Linked DNA regions of Homo sapiens: region 1 is linked to region 2. Evidence: promoter capture Hi-C in human tissues and cell types (Jung and others, 2019). All regions are on one chromosome and are shown on one strand. Each heading gives the region's core, a stretch centred on a gene start or on the middle of the fragment in contact. The rest is flanking DNA. Distances are from core to core; before and after follow the strand shown. Region 1 has its middle 24 kb from the start of PCMTD2. Region 2 holds the start of NPBWR2 (neuropeptides B and W receptor 2).

Region 1 (2,867 bases), core at 349-2,848, 170 kb after region 2:
TAGGAGGGCCCTGGGCAGCTGGGCACTGGGTGGTTAGAGCAGGGGTGGAGTCATAGACCACACGGGCAGGACGTCCCTTTGACCTAGGAGGGCCCTGGGCAGCTGGGCACTGGGTGGTTAGAGCAGGGGTGGAGTCAGACCACACGGGCAGGACGTCCCTTTGATCTAGGAGGGCTCTGGGCAGCTGGGCACTGGGTGGTTAGAGCAGGGGTGGAGTCATAGACCACACGGGCAGGGCATCCCTTTGATCTAGGAGGGCCCTGGGCAGCTGGGCACTGGGTGGTTAGGTGGTTGTTCTGATGGTCAAGAGGGAGAACAGCATGAGCCCTGCCCCAGGCCTGTTGTTCTGTGTCAGAGATCAGGGCTGTCTTAATGCCCCATATCCCCCACCTGGCCAGCTCCCCCAGACTCAGAGGGCAGCAGCAGTAACTACTGTGCCTTGATCCGCTAAGGTGGTGGGGGCCACCCCTCTGCCATCCCAGGAAACACGCAGAGCCTGGGCCATCCCAGCCCTTGCCGGTAGCCTTTCCTGTGACCAGCAGGGCCCAGAGACTGTGTGAGGAGGTGCTTGGGTGGTAGCTGGTCACAGGCAGAGGCACGGGCTACATGAGGACCTCCAGGGGGTGTTGCTCACTCCTATCAGGTAGCAGGGTCACTCCTGAAAGTTCTAGAACCATGACTTAGCCAGCTGCATCATGTCCATTTTGGGGAAAATAAAATCTCTGGAGCTGACCCTTGGCTGGGACTGGACCTCCCAAGAAGTGGCACCTATGCAATGGTTAGAGGTCTGGTCCAGATGGAGGCTGAAGGCTCCTCCTCACCCACTCCACTTGGCACCTGTGGGGAGGGGCCACTGCCCTCAGCATCCTCTTCCCACAGCACTGCCACCCCTCCGCCCCAACACTTCCTCCTGTCCCCTTTCTGGCCTTATCCCTGGCCTCTCTGAGAAGAGGGATGTGATCCCACGGCCTGCCCTCACCTCCTTAAAGGGCCAGCCTGGGCCCAGTGGACACAGTTGAGACACCATCTTGTGCCTCTTCCTGTGCCTTCCTGAGGCACCTTTCCTAGAGATTAAAGGGACATAACGGCTGTTCCAAAGTGTTGATAGCTGGAGGAGGAGCCCGGGGAGATGTGAGGCACGGGGTTTGGGCAGCCCTGGGTTTTCCAGGCTCCAGTGACAGCAGGATGGAGGCTCAGGGTCAGCTCTGGGTACAGTGGGGTGGAGACTCAGGGAACATCTTCAGGGAGGCCACCTCCACCCCATCCCTCCTGGTCCACAGAGATCTGTTGTCTCGAAGTTCTGAAGTCCAGAGTCTGGAATGAGGGTGTTGGCAGGGCCGGCCCTAGGGAGGCATCTGTTCCAGGGCCTTTCTCCAGCTTCTGGTAGTTTCTTTGCTTGTGACAGCAAAGCTCCAGTCTTCACAAACCTTCTTCCCTGTGCGTGTTTCTGTGTCCACATTCCCCTTTTGATAAGGACATAATCATCATGAATGAAGCATGGCCCTAATGACTTCCGAACTTCATCATTTGCAAAGACCCTATTTCCATATAATGCCATACTTGTAGGTACTGGGTGTTAGGGCTTCAACATATGAATTGTTAGGGATGGAACTCAACCTATAACCTTGTCCCTGCCTCTGCCAGTGATCTCCACATTCCTGCTGGCCCCAAAGGCACCATGGCCCCTTCCAGGGTGCCCCAGGCAGATCACGGGAGGGCCTGACTGCTGGGGATGGGGCTGGTGCTGGGATCCTCTGCCCAGTGAGGGCTGGGATGAGACTATTATGGGGTTGGGGGTGCTGAAGTTTTGAAGGCAGGGTAAAACAGAGGCTGGGTCCCTCTCTGGACCCCAGGCTCCAGGGAACACCTCTCCTGGGAGTTCCCATGCTCCCTGTGGCCTGGGCAAAAAAAAAAAAAAAAAGTACTTGCAGTCCGAGGCCCCCCAAAGGCAAAAGCCTGGCTCCGATAAGCATCCTCCCCACCCTGTGTGCCTTTCGAGCCCCTGAGGTTTGTGGGGAGTCTCAGAGGTTTTGTGGGGAGCCTCAGACCAGATCCTGGTCAGCAGGGTTGAGGCAGGCCTGAGAATGTATCTTTAGCATCCAGAGATTGGGAGGGTGTGGACGGAAGCAAGGTTCAGGCATCCTCAGCTCTAACTAAGTATCAAATACTAGTGTGAATCCACTTCCTGGAGCTGGCCTCTGGGGAGCCTTGGGTTGGTGTACATAAACAGGGTCTGCCTGATTCATCAGGTTTCTCATGGGGCCTGGACCACCTCATGATCACAAAAGTGACCGCACAGCTTCAATGCCTCTCCTGTGTGGGCTGGACACACGTTCATCTGACTCACAAACTTTCCCTGGGTGGCACCTGGAGCCCTGGCTCTGGGCTGGAACCTGAGTGTGAAGCCACTGGAGGCTGTGGGATTGCAGGTCAGGTGAGTCACTCAGCCACCTGAGCCTGGCCCTCCGCTCTGCACAGGGGACTAGCTATAGATAGCAGGGAGTTCACCTGAGCAAGACACCAGCACACGTTGGTGCTCAGAAAACTCTGATTTCCTTTTATTGAGATGGGACAACCCTTGGAGACCATGTGTCAAGGTCTGGATTACAGTAGGACAAGGTTCAAAGGGCCCTGTGAGCCCTGAGGTGTTGCTGATCCCTGGGTGTCTGTGAAGGCGAGAGAAGGTGACCTGGATCTGGAATGAGGAAACGGCCATGGGTTTAGGAGCTGGCAGACATGTGTCCAGAATGTGGTTGGCCAGGCCTAGACAGCGCTGGGCTGTGGAGGGCCTTGAACCCCAGGCTAAGGGAGCATGTGGGAAGAGGGCTCACCCTGGTGAGGGAATGCTGGGGTGGGATTTTGTTTTT
Region 2 (2,990 bases), core at 49-2,548:
TGTAGACGCCAGCGAAAGAGAAGAAGGGCAGAACCAGGACCGTGACGCCCAGCCAGACACACAGGCTGGCGACCTTCGCCCCCCGGTAGGTGCGCCAGGGCATGTGGCGGGACCTCACGGTGGCCAGCACCACCAGGTATCGGTCCACGCTCATCACGGCTAGGAAGTAGATGCTGGAGAAGATGTTGTAGTGGTCGACGGCCAGCACCAGCTTGCAGAGCAGCTCCCCGAAGGGCCAGTACTGCAGCAGGTGCTCCGCGATGTTGACGGGCAGTACCAGCGTGAAGAGCCCGTCGGCGACGGCCAGGTTCAGGATGAACACGTTGGTCACCGTCTTCATCTTGGGCGCCCTTAGGATTACAAGGATGACGGCCGTGTTGCCAGTCAGCCCCACAGCACAGATCCCGGAGTACACGGCGGGCAGGAGCACATAGAGGAACGGCAGTGGCTCGGAGAAGGTGGCATTGTGGCCAGTGCCATTGTCCTGAGAGACGTTGGCACCCATCGTGGGGAGGGAGAAGGAGCCCCTGCTGTCAAGGGGCTCTGGGTGCCCAGCGGCCTGCATTGTAGCTGGGACCGTTGACGATTTGCGCCCTGGGCAGGTGGGAGGTGCCTTGGAGTTGGGTATCTGGTTGGGGGCCTCCTTGGGCTGGATTCTAGGAAAGAAAAACAACCAGAGACTTTGAGATCCGGCCGTCTGTTAGGGCACAGCCACTCCAGGTTCTCTGGCAGAGACTGCGGCCACTTTGCCAGGTCAAGGACATGGGGCCAGAGGGAGCCTGGTGGGGTGTGTGGGGGCCTCCTCCCGCCTCTTCCTGGTGAGACTTCAGCAGATCAGTTCCCTCCTCCCGCAGAGAGCAGCTGCTGGCCACCCTCCTGGGAAGAGATGTGGATCCGTCCCTGCCCCAGCAACCCGCAGATGCACGGGCTGCGTAGAATCAAGCGGTCCCTTTGGAAACACACCTCCCAAGCTCATCTCTGGCTCCCTTGAATCTGAAGGTCCTTCCCTCAGGGGTCTTGGAGTCTGCACCCTCCCTCACACCCTCCCGAGAGATGCTGCAGACCCTGCTGGTCCAGCTACTCTTCTCTCCACTGACCTGTCCAGTGCTTCGAGTCCAGAAGTTGGTAGCCTTGGTGTGTTCCTGGTTTTGGCCAGTACAGGCAGTCGCAGGGATGGAGGGCGAGGTGTGGTCCTCACTGACAGACCTCCAGCTGAGGTTTCAGGAGTTTCAAGACCTGCCCTGCTGGCTGCCTCAGCCCCGGCTGCGAGGTTCCCAGCCTGGTGTCAGTGCTGATGCTGGTGAGGGAGGGAGGCGGATCCCCCTTGCTGACGTGGAGCCCGGAAGGCAGGCCCCACCTTCCCCTGAGCTGCAGTAGCGCCTGCAGTCGGCTGTCCCAGGGTCTCCTCAGCATTCACTTACCCAGGCAGACTCCTCAGTGGGCGGCTGAGGCACGTGTGCGCCTGTGTGTCAGGAAGGGACTCCATGCAGGGGCCTCTGGGTGTGCCCAGGTCTTCGGGCAGAGGGCACTGAAGGCATCTGTGCCTCTGTCCGGGAGTCACTGTGGGCCTGGGCACCCTTATCTGTGAACATGGGTGTCTTGGTGGGTCTCCTGCCCCACCCTGTGTGTGTACATGGTGTGTTCCTGTGTGTGTGTGCCAGTTAGGACATGTACGTGTGTGGGCCTGTGTCTGCCTGTATGGGGGTCTCTGTGGGTGAGCTCTGCGTTGTATCTGAGTGGGTCTACATGTCCTTGGCTGAGTGTGGGCATCTGGGGGGTCTGTATGCCCTCATGTGGAAGCAGAACTTGTTGGCCATAGGCAACCCACCTTCTTTTTTTGTCTTTTGCTAAAAGAGGAACTCAGCCTAGGCAAGCTGTGAAAGGCTGCAGAGAAGACGTTCTCACGCTGACACGTAACTCTCCCGCCGTCCTGCAGAGGTGGTGAGCATCACACTCTGCTCTGGGTTGGTCTTTAAGTCCTTCCCTTCTCCCTGCTTTTCTTCCTTGCTGGACGCACCCTGGCTTATCCAACCCGTGTGTGTGCAGCTCGGCCGCATCTGGACCTGCTTTGCAGGCAACGCCACAGCTGACACGAGCAGTCGCCAGTCTCAGAGCCGCTCCTCAGCGGAGACGTGTTGGGTCAGAGGGTCTGTGTTTTCTTTCCTTTCTTCTTTTTTGAGACAGGGTCTTGCCCTGTCACCCAGGCTGGGGTGCAGTGGCACTATCATGGCTCACTGCAGCCCTGACCTCCCTGGGCTCAGGTGATCCTCCCACCTCAGCCTCTCAAGTAGCTGGGACTACAGGCATGTGCCACCATGCCTGGCTAATTTTTGTGTTTTTTTTTGTAGAGACGGGGTTTCACCATGTTGCCCAGGCTGGTCTCGATCTCCTGAGCTTCAGCCTCTACCTCAGCCTCCCAAAGTGCTCAGGTTATAGCCATGACCCACCGTGCCTGGTCACTGTGTGTTTTCAGTCTGGGGAGATGTGTCTGCCCATCGAGACTGTGCCCGCTGCCTGTGGGGTTGCAAGGATGTCACCGCACACTCATGGTCGGCCTTCTTTCCTGAGAGTTGCTCTGTCAAGTCTATTGGTTAGGACAGGAGCCTGGGCAGTCGCCCTGAGTACCCTGATGTCGCCAGCCTGAGGGTACACTGTGGGTGGGCCCCGAGCTACCCTTCTATGGGCTGTGCCATGTGGATGTTGAGTCCGGGGTCAGGGAACCCTGCTGAGATATCTCACACTCCTCTTCAGCCAGTTTGGGGATGGCGGTGGGGGGGATCTGTGGGTGTGTCTCGAGGGAGCGTGGGGCTTGTAGCCACAGTTTGTCACATAAGTGGAGCTTGACGCCCACAAGGTCAGGGGATGGTGATTAGCAGCCGTGAGGAGAGGGTGCATTGGGGCTGAATTTTGTGATTTGGGGTGTTCGTGGGGTCGGGAGGGGTCAGTTCACAGCTCCTGGAAACCAGAGGCGTGACACAGAGAGGCCAGGC

What was found. The method cuts DNA at HindIII sites, captures the fragments that hold promoters and counts their contacts. A contact is called where the count stands out against the background at its distance.
Region 1: a fragment that was not itself captured here is called in contact with the fragment with the promoter of NPBWR2 in region 2 in 3 of the 25 tissues and cell types used here (IMR-90 fibroblasts, dorsolateral prefrontal cortex and spleen).

The regions. Positions count from the first base shown.
Region 1 is chr20:64,277,931-64,280,797 of GRCh38, forward strand. It overlaps the pseudogene IL9RP5. Among named protein-coding and RNA genes, the nearest start is that of PCMTD2, 24 kb to the left of the region's middle. The HindIII fragment of the contact is 9,812 bases long and covers 1-2,867 here.
Region 2 is chr20:64,106,267-64,109,256 of GRCh38, forward strand. NPBWR2 (neuropeptides B and W receptor 2) reads right to left here and starts at 1,299. Exons shown (of 2, transcript NM_005286.4): 1 at 1,098-1,299; 2 at 1-656. The coding sequence starts at 565. RefSeq lists an enhancer at 847-1,347. The HindIII fragment of the contact is 24,186 bases long and covers 1-2,990 here.